Linked DNA regions of Homo sapiens: all the other regions are linked to region 5. The links are contacts of gene promoters, found by promoter capture Hi-C in blood cells and fetal thymus (Javierre and others, 2016). All regions are on one chromosome and are shown on one strand. Each heading gives the region's core, a stretch centred on a gene start or on the middle of the fragment in contact. The rest is flanking DNA. Distances are from core to core; before and after follow the strand shown. Region 1 overlaps CCSER2 (coiled-coil serine rich protein 2). Region 2 has its middle 280 kb from the start of CCSER2. Region 3 has its middle 230 kb from the start of CCSER2. Region 4 has its middle 270 kb from the start of CCSER2. Region 5 holds the start of LRIT1 (leucine rich repeat, Ig-like and transmembrane domains 1).

Region 1 (2,700 bases), core at 178-2,677, 270 kb after region 5:
GACACTGATTTGGGGATAGGGAAATTATATCATGCCACAAAAATTAATTTTTAATAAAAATATAAAATTTTATTTCGCATATAGAAACCACTGATTTAGTTAATGTAATTCACTAGTAGTATAGATGTCTAACTTGTAGTTTAGACATTTATTTATAAAACTGTTAAATTCCTCTCGGTTGACTCAACATTTTGTTATTCTTTAAAAACTGGATGTTTTCTAATTCATTAATATTTGATATGAAGCTTTATTGCATTTAATACAAGTAGCTTGTCTTTCTGACTCTGCTGTATTTCCGTTTATTTCTCTGATAAGCAGTGGTCAGTTGGGTACTGTGAGTAATCAAAACAGTACAAGTGGTGAGTACAAAACAGTACAAATTTATAGTGCACAATGGCCCTTTCCTGGGCATTTCTGGAGGTAGGTTGTCTTAATAATCAGTTTATTACCTGTCTTAATTGAAAAATCATCTTTTTATGCTTTTCACTGATAGCACATGTTTATACCTTTTTTCTTATTGGCAATAGACATATTACAATAAAGTCCATTTTTAAATTGTCACTGATATTTTCAGAAGTCTTAAATTGCTTTAAGAGTTTTAACTTGGAACTAGAATATCTTACCATGTTTGAGGGTGAAAAGGAAAAACAAATCCCCATTCAACCAACCAATTGATCGTGCCTCCTTCCTAATTACTTTTTATTCCCTTTGGTAGATTTTGGTTTGTTTAATATGGTCCTGCTCTATTTTTTCACTAATCTTTCAAGGTTTTTGATCACTTTGGCACGGTCATTTTTATCTAGGGAACCCCAGGGAGAATCTGTTGATTTAATTATGTGGTGATTTTAGTATCTTCCGTTTTGCGGGACAGTTCATTCATTTTTGTGTTGATGTGCTGTGAAAATACCCAGTGACTTTAAAGTCTGGGATATTTAGCTTGAGGCAGCAATTGAGCTGACTTGTTTATTTCAAACATTCTGCAATACGATTTGATGTGACATATTTCTGTACAGATTAATTTTGAGTAGTCACTGTCTTGATTTTTTTTTAATGCAAGTCAGCTGTATGCCATCATAGCCAACCATCCTCCATGAGTTGATGAGCCTTGCCCTCAGTCACTCCCAATCCAGCCATAATCTAATCCCTGGCTGCTGATCCTGGGCAGCCATTGTCCAGTGCTGGTCAGGGAGGTGGAAGAACTGAAAAAAACACAAATGATGCAGTATAAATAGATCCGCCCCTTCTATTGGGGAAATTAGAGCTACTATGTAGATTTATTTGTGGATTAGCATAGCAAAAAAAACTTATTAGTGAGAAATGGCCCTCTGAATTTCATGTTGTAAAGCCCTTTGCCAAAGTTTTTGACATTTTAGCCCACATTATTTAAACAGTGTGTGTGTGTGTGTGTGTGTGTGTGTGAGAGAGAGAGAGAGAGAGAGGAGAGAGATAATGCATTTGTAGCAAATACCCCTGTATCAGGACAGGCCCAGTTGGCCCTGCCCATATATTTTAACTATTTGGGCCATTGAAAGATAGCTTTCAGATTTGTATTTTTTACTGGATACCCCCAAATCATGGAAATGGCATAGTTCCTCTGATTGTTTTTGAAACATAACTACACAATGAGCTTCAGGGAAGTACATGTGAGGCACACAGACCCTAAGAACCTTGTCATAGGCTTCTGTTCTTTAGTTGCAGTTAGAGGCAACTTCACATTTGTTTTACTCTGAGCCATCATTCAAAAGGCTGATTATTCTAAATTTAAGTAAATGAATGTTTACTTTTCATTAGGGTAGATCTGTTTTTCACATGTCAGCCATAATAGGAGTGAGACAGAACAAATAAACTTTGAAACATTTTATTTGGAAACTTTTCAACAAGAATATTAAAAATAGGTTAGCATTAGCTAAATGTCTCGACCTATATTTGTTAAATAAATAGAATTTCACATAAACTGAGAATATAGTGATTTACTCTAAATCTTGTTTATCTGCTGGTGCTTTTCATTCTTGACAGAAGAACAACACTTGTTAACATGGTGTACAACTTTTTTTTTTAACTTTAATGTAAGTAGTATTCCGAAGGTCACCGTTAACACCTGAATGTTTTGTGGAGGTTAAACCAAAAGCTGTAGAATCATTCTGTCAAGCTCTAAGGTTTAAAATACCTAATGAATCTATTATGGCAGGAATTTTTTCTATAATAAATTAGTACTTTAATGTTTTCTTTTTCTCATTTAATTTTGGATCTTGTTCAGTGTTTACTGCCTGTATCATTTTTTGTTTGCATTATCACTCTTGTATGTGTCTAATTTGCTTGAATATTGCAGTTCATTTTTTAATTAAAAGAAACTCCACATATTTTCCATATTAAAGCCATAATAAGTACCAACACAGCCTAATTGGTATTTATATTAAATCTGGGTGGAATTTCTAAGAACTTGCTGCTAATGTTGTTTTTAATTTTAACAGCCTCAAGTACTACAGCCTTCCAGCAGCCTTCCCAGACCCACAGATCACACCCAGGGAAAACTAATAAAGCCACAACGTATCGAGGCCCGCAGTGAATGCTCAATCCAAGACATGCATCAGGGCGGTGCACATCCGGAAGAAAGCTTTACACACGTCTTGCACCAAGAAAGCAACTATGGTTTGGAAGAGCAGCCTTTTTCATCAGGCCCACAATTAACAATGGATGTGG
Region 2 (2,700 bases), core at 89-2,588, 370 kb after region 5:
GTGATATTCCATGCAAGTTGCCTCTGGAAACCCCTCTCTAGGCTTATGCAAGAATGAGAATGAAGAAGCTAGATTGTACTTAGTATTTTTATGCAAATAGTTTGCGTTTACAGACTCCATGGAAGGGTCATGGGTACTTCCATGGGTTTCTGAAACACACTTTGAGAACCACTGGCTGAAATAACATAAAAGTTCTGGTATTTGGAAGTTCTCACTTATAAGTGGGAGCTGAACAATGAGAACACATGGACACAAGGACGGGAACAACACATGCTGGGGCCTGTCGGCAGGTGGGGTGTGGGGAGGGAGAGCATTAGGAAAAATAGCTAATGCATGCTGGGCTTAATACCTAGGTGATGGGTTGATAGGTGCAGCAAACCACCATGACACGCATTTACCTATGTAACAAACCTGCACATCCTGCATGTGTACTCAAGAATTTAATTTTTTTTTTTTTGAGATGGAGTTTTACTCTTGTTGCTTAGGCTGGAGTGCAATGGTGAGATCTCGTTTCACCACAACCTACACTTCCTGGGTTCAAGCGATTCTCCTGCCTCAGCCTCCTGAGTAGCTGGGATTACAGGTGCCCACCACCATGCCCAGATAATTTTTTGTATTTTTATTAGAGACGGGGGTTTCACCATGTTGGCCAGGCTGGTCTTGAATTCCTGACCTCAGGTGACCCACCTGCCTTGGCCTCCCAGAGTGCTGGTATTACAGGTGTGAGTCACTGTGCCCGGTCCTTACATTTTTAAAAAATAAGTCCTGGTATTTTTTTTTTTTTTTTTGAGACAGAATTTCACTCTTATTGCCCAGGCTGGAGTGCAATGGCGCAATCTCGGCTCACCACAACCTCTGCCTCCCAGGTTCAAGCGATTCTCCTGCCTCAGCCTCCCAAGTAGCCGGAATTACAGGCTTGCGCCACCACACCTGGCTAATTTTGTGTTTTTAGTAGAGACGGGGTTTCTCCATGTTGGTCAGGCTGGTCTCGAACTCCCGACCTCAGGTGATCCATCCACCTCGGCCTCCCAAAGTGCTGGGATTACAGGTGTAAGCCACCGTGCCCTGCCAGGTCCTGGTATTTCATTGCTTTCTTTTTCAGGTGGAGCTTTACAGTATGTCTTAGCCTTGACCTGTGGAAAGGCAGACGTGCTGCTGCAGCCCTGGCTTGGCTGCTACCTGAGGGCCCTCGTGAAGCTCTGGGTCCTGGCCATGCTGTGGTGGCTTCTGGCTATACAGATAATGAGAGGAGGTGAGCAGCGGTGGGAAGGGAAGAGGAGGGGGCCCTGAGAGGGAATCAGGAGCTGAGCCTGAATCCTGAGGTCTAGGAAGGGCTGTGTGTCCCGGGGGGAGCCACTTCCTCTCCAAGAGCCCCAGCCCTTGTCTGCAGCAGGGGGTTGAGTAGATACCTAAGGGTCCTCCCAGTTAGACAGATGCTGAGATTCTGATCCGGAGTCTCACATAGCCCTGTTGTCCTGTCTGCTTTTGGGAAGGAGCTTCCTCCTGAAGGAAACTGACCATGACTATGCGAGTGGCCAGGCTCCCACTCTTATCATCCATCTGCTTCATATGGCAATAGCTTGATCGTCATTTCTTTCATTACCAAAGTATTAAAATATGTAACAATAGAAAAAAAAAGAAAAATGACAGGAATAAGCATTATAGTCCTCTTTCCTAGGGACAGCCCCTGCTGACACGAGGGGGAGCATCTTTCCAGTCTTTGTCTTGTGCTTATAGTTCATGCTTTATCTTTGCCAGATCATTTCTTCTTAAATACAGCGTTATAACGTGACTTTCAGCAATTGAATAACGTGAACGCTTTATTCTAGCATTCAAGGCTGTCTATCTTTACAGACTTGTCTTTTACGCTTTCCCTCTCTGTGTCTCTCACTCGCACTCTTGCTTCTCCCCAAATGAACCCTGTCGATCCCCTCTCATGCTGTAGAAGCCATCTCCCGGGGCTTAGCACTCCACCTCTAAACTGAATCTATTCTGTGACGCTGGGAAATTCTGACTTAATCATTCCGCACCTTGCTTCCTTGATTACTCCACAGTATCTTTTGTGTTCCTGATCTTATGTCATTTCTGAAGGCTTACCGTATCCTCTGGCTGTCTGTCCACTCTGCTTGTGTGTTCCCACAGCTGTTATTCATACCTTAATCGGCACCTTTCTCACTGTATTGTAATTGTCTGCATGCTTCTTATTTAACGCCAGTTCTGGAGCTGCCCGCAGTGTTGCACGCTGAGTATTTGCTGTCTGGGTTGAGTGTGTGTGTGCGGCTGGTCAGATGCCAGGCGCTGTCTGTGTCACCCAGTGTGTGCACATGGTTGGTTACTTGGGTGTCCTGCTAAACCATGAGCCCCCTGCAGGCAGAGTCCACACAGAATGGATCCATTCCCATTTGTAGGGCTGGGAAAAGCTCCTCCTGGCAGGGCTGGGTAGACTCTGGCCTGTGACGCTTAGGGCTGGCTGAATTCAAGACCACAAGATGTCAGTGTTGTCTCAGCCACAGAGGAACAGCCAGGGCTGTGGCTCTTATGCCTTGCCTAGGTAATTCTGTGAGTTGGGCAAAGCCCAATTTAAACAAAATATGTGTGTCTGTGTGTTATCTTTTGCCCTGTCTTCAAATCCAACAGCCAACAGAGTAGGTGGCCAGTGAATTCGTTGCTGATCATGGGTCTTGTCAAGGTACAGAGGCA
Region 3 (2,700 bases), core at 63-2,562, 310 kb after region 5:
GAACTAGAAAAGGATTGGGCATTACACAGTGAGCCTAGATATGGAGCTGGGTAAAATACCCAATAAGGCATTGCTTTAGGGAACATGAGTACATATTTCTGGGGGTAGTTTTATTATTTCAGATGAGACCATTACTGTTGTGTGATTGGGAAGATTAAGTATAGAAGAAGGTCATGTGCTGTGTTGGACAGTTAAAGGAGTGAACTACAGTAGACATTTCTCATTCTCTTTGGCCATCCAGAAGCATTGGATATATTTCCTGTGCTTGAGGAATTTCCCACTTTATGTATCATGGTGAGAGGTAAAGACTATCTCCTCCATGGATATTTCCTAGCCTCCCTTGTAGCTGAAAATTAGGCATTTGACTCTGGCTTTGCCACTTAGTTATACTTTTCCAGACTTTGATTCAGAAGCTAATAACATAGAAAGAAATACCGAAGCATTCTGGTAGGGTTTGTGGCAGATACGTGAAGCCTGCAGAGGCAGATTTTCTCATTGTGACAGACAGTGCTTTACATCCATTGGGTCAATGAGGCAAGCTGCAATGTCTGTGCCCAGGGAGGATGGCAATGGTGACTCCACTGTTTCAGTTCTGTGGAGTAATTTGGGGGCCCTTCTCTGATGAAATACCAGGTCTGATTTTCTGGTCCTTCCAGAGTTTTCCTGTCTTTTAACACATTTTATTTCTGTTTAAAATAGCTTGACTTATTTGTTTACATTAAGAATTCTGGGCTGGGCGTGGTGGCTCACACCTGTAATCCCAGCACTTTGGGAGGCCAAGGTGGGCGGATCCCGAGGTCAGGAGATTGAGACCATCCTGGCTAACTTGGTGAAACCCCGTCTCTACTAAAAAAATACAAAAAAATTAGCTGGGCGCGGTGGCAGGCGCCTGTAGTCCCAGCTACTTGGGAGGCTGAGGCAGGAGAATGGTGTGAACCCGGGAGGTAGAGCTTGCAGTGAGCCGAGATCACGCCACTGCACTCCAGCCTGGGCGACAGAGCAAGACTCCGTCTCGGAAAAAAAAAGAATTCTGACTGCTGCAGGAAAAACAACAACCAGCACAATGACAACAAACTAGTATAGTGATCTTTGTATAATTGCCTTGTATCCAGTCACCAAATCACATTCACTTGAATTCATCATAACAGTACTTTTAAAATGAGTCTCTTCAAGGAATACTATTGTGTCATATATAAATTAATGCTAAACGACGAGTTAATGGGTGCAGCACACCAACATGGCACATGTATACATATGTAACAAACCTGCACGTTGTGCACATGTACCCTAAAACTTAAAGTATAATAATAATAATAAAAAAGATAATTCTCTTTCTTTTTTTTCCCAAGTAATATAATGGATGAAAGTATGGTTGGTAGAATTAATCAATAGTCACTATTCCTTGTGTCTGTTCAACTGGCTGCAAATGCTAGGTTCCTGTATTCCTTTACTCAGGGCTGTCCTGTGAGCAGACTAGGGATTGCTGTGGTCTAAGATAAAGCAAATTTTGGCCTGGATATAATTAGTACCAAAACTCTCTTGCCTGTACAGCTTGGCTTGGTGATGGCCAAATGTAAATACTATAAAATGTAAATGGATCCTAATGAGTAGAGATGGTTACCTACAAAATGCAGCTAAAAGTAGAATGAACCAAAGTACTTAAAGAAGGACAAGCTAAAAAACAAGACTTTATTAAAGTTGCAAAAGTCAGGAGAAAGCAGAGAGAAAGATAAGAAAGTGAACTCAGAATCAGGAACCAGGAAAGACTGGGATGAATCAGGAAAAAGACTAAAAGCAAAACGAGAGAAGTACTAGGTGGTGGGCAATGATCTGTAGTCTCCGGTTTACCTCTATTAATTATAAGATGAATAGTGTGTGAATTGCTTGAACAAACCATAGATGCCCAGAGTTTATAAACTGAACCCTTATTCCCACAGAACTAGACTCCTGCTTTGACTCTCCACTCTGCAGTTAGTTTGATCACCTGCTTAAAGCAGGGCTAAGCTCCCAAATGGGAGGAAATGTATTATTGCTCTGAATTAAGCCTGTCCTTAGAGGTGGATTGGACTATTATCTAATCATTGCCAGAAGTAGGACATTAGATCAATATTCCAAAACCCAAGTCATTATTTTTTATAAGTGTCTGCCAAAATTTAAAAAGTATATGGAAACCTTTTTACAAAGTTTAGACATTAAAGCAAGAACCGTCTGCATGAATGTGTACATGTGTTTTTGTATATGTATATTGTGTATATGAGTGTGATTTACATATATAAATCACTATAAATAAATACACACGGTAAATTTAACACTACAAAAGGTAAAAGCCTTCTTCTATTTTCAGTACTATCCCTTAAAGGTAGCCACTACTGACAGTTTCTGTGTATATTTCCTAAAAGGTTTATATAATTATAGTGTATTAATATATGTAAATATTTATACATTTGTATCCTTTCCTTTTTAATACATATAAGAAATATACTATTTATCCTTTTACTCTATTCATTTAAAAACATGAATTGGAATTTTTTCTGTGCAAGCACATATAAATGCTTCATTCTTTTTAAAAAGTCGAGTGGTATTCCATTGTGTGTGTGTCAGTCCATTCTTGCATTGCTATAAAGAAATAACCTGAGACTGGGTAATTAATGACGAAAATAGGCTTAATTGACTCACATTTCCACTGGCTGTATAGGAAGC
Region 4 (2,700 bases), core at 11-2,510, 350 kb after region 5:
GTCTGCAGATGGCACAGAGAGGAAGACCAAAGCGTGGGTCACACTGGCGAGGCACAGGTGTGTGGGGAGCGCAGGGTGAGAATTAAAAAGTGGCCCCAAGTTCCCGGAGTGGGCTTCATGTCACGGACTTGGTGACCTACCCTGCGTGTGGGTCTATTATTTTATTTTTATTTTTTTGAGACAGAGTCTTGCTCTGTCGCCCAGGCTGCCGTGCAGTGGCGCGATCTCCGCTCTCTGCAAGCTCCACCTCCCGGGTTCACGCCATTCTCCTGCCTCAGCCTTCGGAGTAGCTGGGACTACAGGCGCCCAACACCATGCCAGGCTAATATTTTTGTATTTTCAGTAGAGGTGGGGTTTCACCGTGTTAGCCAGGATGGTCTCAATCTCCTGACCTCGTGATCCACTCGCCTCGCCTCCCAAAGTGCTGGGATTACAGGCGTGAGCCACCGCCCTCGGCCATGTGGGTCTATAGATTCTCCATAGTTTCTACTTGGCGGTGCCCTGCGTAGCTTTCTTTTTTCTGTCACCTTGGTCATTGCATCTGCATTTTTAGCACTGTCTCTAAGTTTTCTCTGAATCTGAGTCTTCCCTTTATCACCATGGCATCTTATTCCCATTTTCTTTGCTGATCACTGTTTTCAGTGGGAGGGACTCTTGCATCCTTGGGGCACTTTATGTGTGGGCCTCTTTTTCAATAATTACATACATCATCTCATTTTTCATAACAGTATTTTGAGGTGGGTAAGAGAGATTAACCTGCCCAAGGAACACAGCTGGCGTGAGGCCGACTGAGGATGCCAGTCCGCTTGGTAGGTGGGCTTCATGCCCCCTCCCCCTCCTCTTGTTAGTGACCAGTGACTATTGACATCTTTTATGTAGTAGACATGGATACATTTCCGGCTGTAGTGGCTTCTAAATTGTGGAATATTAGTCAGGAGATGAGTTCTGCTGAGGGGCACTCAGCAGTTGGTTCCTCTAAAAAGAAGATAAGACATTTAGAAAGACGTCTGCAACAAGTGTTGCACAGGGATGGGAGTTACTAATCCAAAAAAATTGAAATAAGAGGACACTTTTAGGCGATGCTTGAACATGGTATAGATGTTACCTAGATGTTAGGTAGTGGAGAGGTGGGCTAAGTTGGAGACTCAAGCTTGTATCTGGTCATGGAGAGCTGTAAGCATTCAGTCAAGGAGTTTTGACCTTTGGTATAAATCTTATTTCACAGCAACAGGGTATGACATGCCATATTCCTTTATTTCTCTTAATCAGATTAAATTTGCTCTCAGACTTCACCTATCTGGCTGGGAGGATACCCAGTAGCAATTACTAATGAGACTTCTTCCTCTCCACCATGGTGTCATCAAAGGATCTGAAGCTTATCTGGTGTCGGAAAAATTTAGAGAGGACCCAGGTTCCTCTTTCTCATGTGATCACGATTGTTCCTCTGGCTACCTAATACAGCTGAGGAGTAATTGTCCCCTCCTTCTGGCAAAAATACTTCCTCTCAGGGCCTGGCGCAGTGGCTCATGCCTGTAATCCCAGCACTTTGGGAGGCCGAGGCGGGCAGATCATGAGGTCAGGAGATCGAGACCATCCTGTCTAACACAGTGAAATCCCGTCTCTACTAAAAATACAAAAAAATTAGCAGGCCATGGTGGCGGGCGCCTGTAGTTCCAGCTACTCGGGAGGCTGAGGCAGGAGAATGGTGTGAACCCAGGAGGCAGAGCTTGCAGTGAGCCGAGACTGCGACACTGCACTGCAGCTTGGGCAACAGAGCAAGACTCCATTTCAAAAAACAAACAAACAAACAAACAAAAAAACTTCCTGTCTGCTGGCTTCTGCTTTTATCCTGAAAGTTTTCACCTTCATCCCCTCCTTTTACATGACCAGCTTTAGTTTAGGATTGCATTCACACACACACTCACACTCACACAAAACTCTTAAGCTTCTCCAAGAGTAGGGAGAGGTAAAGATAAGGAGAGCTCAGAGTTTTAGAAATAAAGCTGGGCTATCTTTCCTGGAGTGGAGATTGGGCAAGGAGGTACTAACACTAGTTAGTTTCTGTCTTAATAACTCCTTTAGGTATTGAGCTAGTCCATGAGATAAGGCGACCTCTCTAGAAATTCTTTTTTTTTTTTTTTGAGACAGAGTCTCGCTCTGTTGCCCAGGCTGAAGTGCAGTGGCACGATCTTGGCTCACTGCAAGCTCCACCTTCTGGGTTCAGGCCATTCTCCTGCCTCAACCTCCCTAGTAGCTGGGACTACAGGCGCCCACCACCATGCCTGGCTAATTTTTTATATTTTTGGTCGAGATGGGGTTTCCCCATGTTAGCCAGGATCCTGACCTCGTGATCCACCCGCCTCTGCCTCCCAAAATGCTGGGATTACAGGCGTGAGCCACCGTGCCCAGCCCCTTTCTAGAAATTCAGAGTAGGAAAGTGACAAGTTAGTGATGGTCTTTGGGAAGATCAACTTGGCATTGCTCATTTTCTGGTTTGCAGTGGCAGAAATGGCATCTTTCCCCAGTGCCTAGCACAGGACCTGCCCTGCAGTCAGAGCTTGATGCGCATTTATTCATGCATGTGTGCATAAAGTAATGGCAAACTATTGCAATGGTGCAGAAGAGAGAGCCAGTCCCTGAGTGATGAACATGACAATGCAAATGGAGACAAATTGCCCAACATAAAATTTCAGAGAAGTG
Region 5 (2,700 bases), core at 180-2,679:
ATCGGAATGCCTGGGTTCCAGGACCGGTTTTGTCAATGATGCTGTGTGGCTTTCAGCCCTATGCCTTCTACGGGTGGTGGGAGGCTTTTTGTCACTCCAGTGACACTGCCCAGGCTGGGAACAGCAGGCTGTTCAGGGCTCAGCCTGGCTTCTACTGGGGACAGGACCCTTACACTTCATATGAGTTGATGCCTTGGACACTTGGGCTACAGTGGAGCTCATTCTGGTTCTCAGATCATTTGAGGTGTCTTTTCTTAGTGGTTCTTCTCCATTCTCCTCTCATCCCCCAATCAACTCGACATTCATTGCCAAGATTATTAAAAGGGTAGCTCCAATAACATTGTTCCCAGGATCAGAAACCATCAGTGGCTCAGAAACCATGCAGAGGTCATTAATGGATAAGCTAAAGAAGTTGGAGAAAAGATGATTTAAACGTTGCTAAAGAAAAGAAGAAAATGAGCAGTAGTGGAAGAGCAAGGGTCCACAAGCCACAGTGGCATGGGAATGTCCCATGAAAGGAGAGGAGGAGAGAATGGAGGTGCTCTGAGGGATCAGACAGAGGGTGGGGAAAGTCAAGGAAAAGGCTGGGGATGGAAGGAAGCATGCTTGTCATGGGATGGGCACTCCTGGCTTTTGGAGCACTCATAAAAAGGTATTGAGGCTGAGGCTCCTGGGATCTGGCCAGCGAAGATGGAGAGGAGGAAGAGAATGAGAGGCAAGTGGTCCCATCATGGGTGGGGTTGTAGGAAATGCCTGGGATATGATTGAATATTGTAGAGAGGTCAGGCAAGAGAGTGCAAGTGGCCTGGGAAAGAAGGGGCTGGGGAAATATAGAAAAGAAGAGGGAATAGAAAAAATAAAAGAGAAGAAAAAGCAGTAAGGGAGGAGATTTCCTGGACCTTTAAGGAGGGCTCTTCACCAGGAGCCTGGAGGAGGACTTAGGAAGGACTTCTTAGAACTGACATACTTGTGCCTCACCCTCGGGCCCATGTGTATAGATACCTGGTACCTCTCGAATAGAGTCACCCCCTTGCCTGCTGGAAAACAATGCAGCACAGTCCACCCCATAGGATCCCTGGTCCTCAAGGGCCAAGGGAGATGAAGACCTCACCCAGGGCCCCAGCTCCAACTCCTCCCAACCCAGCCTAGCTGGCAAAGCAATGGAGGCTGGGCTGCCCGTCCCACGCACCCGGTACCATACCTGGCCTTGCTGCCATCACCCATGATATGGAGGCTGCAGCTGCATTGAGAGGGGCAGAAGCCCCGGGCCTGGGGGGGCCACGCAAGGGCCAAGAGCCAGAGCATGCCTAATGCCACCCTCATGGCTCCTGGCTCCTCTCTGGCCCAGGCAGGGGCCTGTCCCTGGACCGCTCCGTCCCACCGGCCCAGCAAGCTCAGCAGCTGCCCACTTGCTCGCCAGCCCCTTACACCCCCTCCTGAGGCCATCGGATAAACATGGACAGACTGGGGATTAGGGAGGGGAGTCCCAGCCGCAGCACTCAGAGGCTTATTGCTTTCTGAATCACTCAGTCCTGAGGGTAGGGGCGGGGGACCCCCTTCCATAGCAATATCCACAGGCCCAGAGAGGCCAGGGCAGGGCACAGCAAAGCAAGACAAGTAGGCAGCTTTCCAGAGGCGAGCAGCCATGGGACTGTCATCTGCAAAGCATCCCATCCCAACAAGGCCACGGACAACACAGACCCCACTGGAGTGCCAGGGAAGATGGAGAAAGAACCCCCGCCTCAGTAAGGGCCTTTGGAAATTCTTTCCTGTGACACTGTCTCATAGCAAAAAAGCAGTGAAATGAAGCAACTCTTCCTGATGGTGCTAAAGGCATTGGAAGGAGGCTAAGCTCTGGACCCAGGCTTCCTGGGGTCAAATCCCAGCTGCTCCATTAAGGGGCTGTGACCTTGGGTGAGTCACATTATCTCTTGGCCTCTGTGTCCTTATCTGACAAAGAGAAATAAAGTTACTTCATGCAGGGTGTTTGTGAAAATCAAACTCAAATTCCAAGGCCTTGACAGCCTGTGGGAACAGAAGCTCTCTCACAAGTTGTAAGTGCCCAGTTTCACTGGTACTTATAAGACCCTACTTACAGAAGAACTGGACAGATTCAGATATTTTGGGGAGACATCAGAGGTGTCTCTCATGAGCCCACAAACTGTCCCAGGCTGCCAGGCAAACAGCTGCCTGCCTTGAGTGCCCCATGGATATGGACTCAACACACTACTATTTCAGCTGAGCCCTTCTGGGCATTGCTACGAATGCCAAAGGTGGAGATGTCTCCACATAAGGGACAAGGGCACCCCTCTCCTCAAGGTGCCCTACTCCAAGGAGGGCCCCAGAGAGGTAGCTCAGAGAGGTCTTAGAGAAGGCACTTTCAGGTTTTTTTGGAGACAGGACCCCAACCTCTAATAAGGGCCTTTGGAAATTCTCCATCCATAAAGCTTTGTTTTGCTTTATAGGGACAGGGTTGCTCTGTCACTCAGAGTGGAGTGCAATGGTGTAATCATAGCTCACTGTAGCCCCGAACTCCTGAGCTCAAGCCATCCTCCTGCCTCAGCCTCGCAAGTAGCTGGAACTGCAGGCAACCACCACCATGTTTGGCTATTTTTAAAAAATTATTTTTTGCAGTCAGGGTCTTGCCATGTTGCCCAGGATGGTCTCAAACTCCTGGCCTCAAGCGATCCTCCTACCTCA

Evidence for each region. Contacts are between HindIII fragments. The CHiCAGO score rates a contact against its expected background, and 5 or more counts as called.
Region 1: a contact is called between a fragment that was not itself captured here and the fragment with the promoter of LRIT1 in region 5, in 1 of 17 cell types (activated CD4 T cells). The highest score is 6.9, in activated CD4 T cells.
Region 2: a contact is called between a fragment that was not itself captured here and the fragment with the promoter of LRIT1 in region 5, in 1 of 17 cell types (naive CD8 T cells). The highest score is 5.5, in naive CD8 T cells.
Region 3: a contact is called between a fragment that was not itself captured here and the fragment with the promoter of LRIT1 in region 5, in 2 of 17 cell types (naive CD8 T cells and total CD8 T cells). The highest score is 6.3, in naive CD8 T cells.
Region 4: a fragment that was not itself captured here is called in contact with the fragment with the promoter of LRIT1 in region 5 in 3 of 17 cell types (non-activated CD4 T cells, activated CD4 T cells and M2 macrophages); the score reaches 6.0 in non-activated CD4 T cells.

The regions. Positions count from the first base shown.
Region 1 is chr10:84,510,978-84,513,677 of GRCh38, forward strand. It overlaps CCSER2 (coiled-coil serine rich protein 2), which reads left to right. Exons shown (of 10, transcript NM_001284240.2): 10 at 2,472-2,700. Among named protein-coding and RNA genes, the nearest start is that of CCSER2, 180 kb to the left of the region's middle. RefSeq lists a silencer at 1,502-1,702. The HindIII fragment of the contact is 2,369 bases long and covers 244-2,612 here.
Region 2 is chr10:84,611,104-84,613,803 of GRCh38, forward strand. No RefSeq gene overlaps it. Among named protein-coding and RNA genes, the nearest start is that of CCSER2, 280 kb to the left of the region's middle. The HindIII fragment of the contact is 5,833 bases long and covers 1-2,700 here.
Region 3 is chr10:84,553,361-84,556,060 of GRCh38, forward strand. No RefSeq gene overlaps it. Among named protein-coding and RNA genes, the nearest start is that of CCSER2, 230 kb to the left of the region's middle. The HindIII fragment of the contact is 8,206 bases long and covers 1-2,700 here.
Region 4 is chr10:84,594,188-84,596,887 of GRCh38, forward strand. No RefSeq gene overlaps it. Among named protein-coding and RNA genes, the nearest start is that of CCSER2, 270 kb to the left of the region's middle. The HindIII fragment of the contact is 225 bases long and covers 1,149-1,373 here.
Region 5 is chr10:84,240,117-84,242,816 of GRCh38, forward strand. LRIT1 (leucine rich repeat, Ig-like and transmembrane domains 1) reads right to left here and starts at 1,430. Exons shown (of 4, transcript NM_015613.3): 1 at 1,202-1,430. The coding sequence starts at 1,323. The HindIII fragment of the contact is 15,150 bases long and covers 1-2,445 here.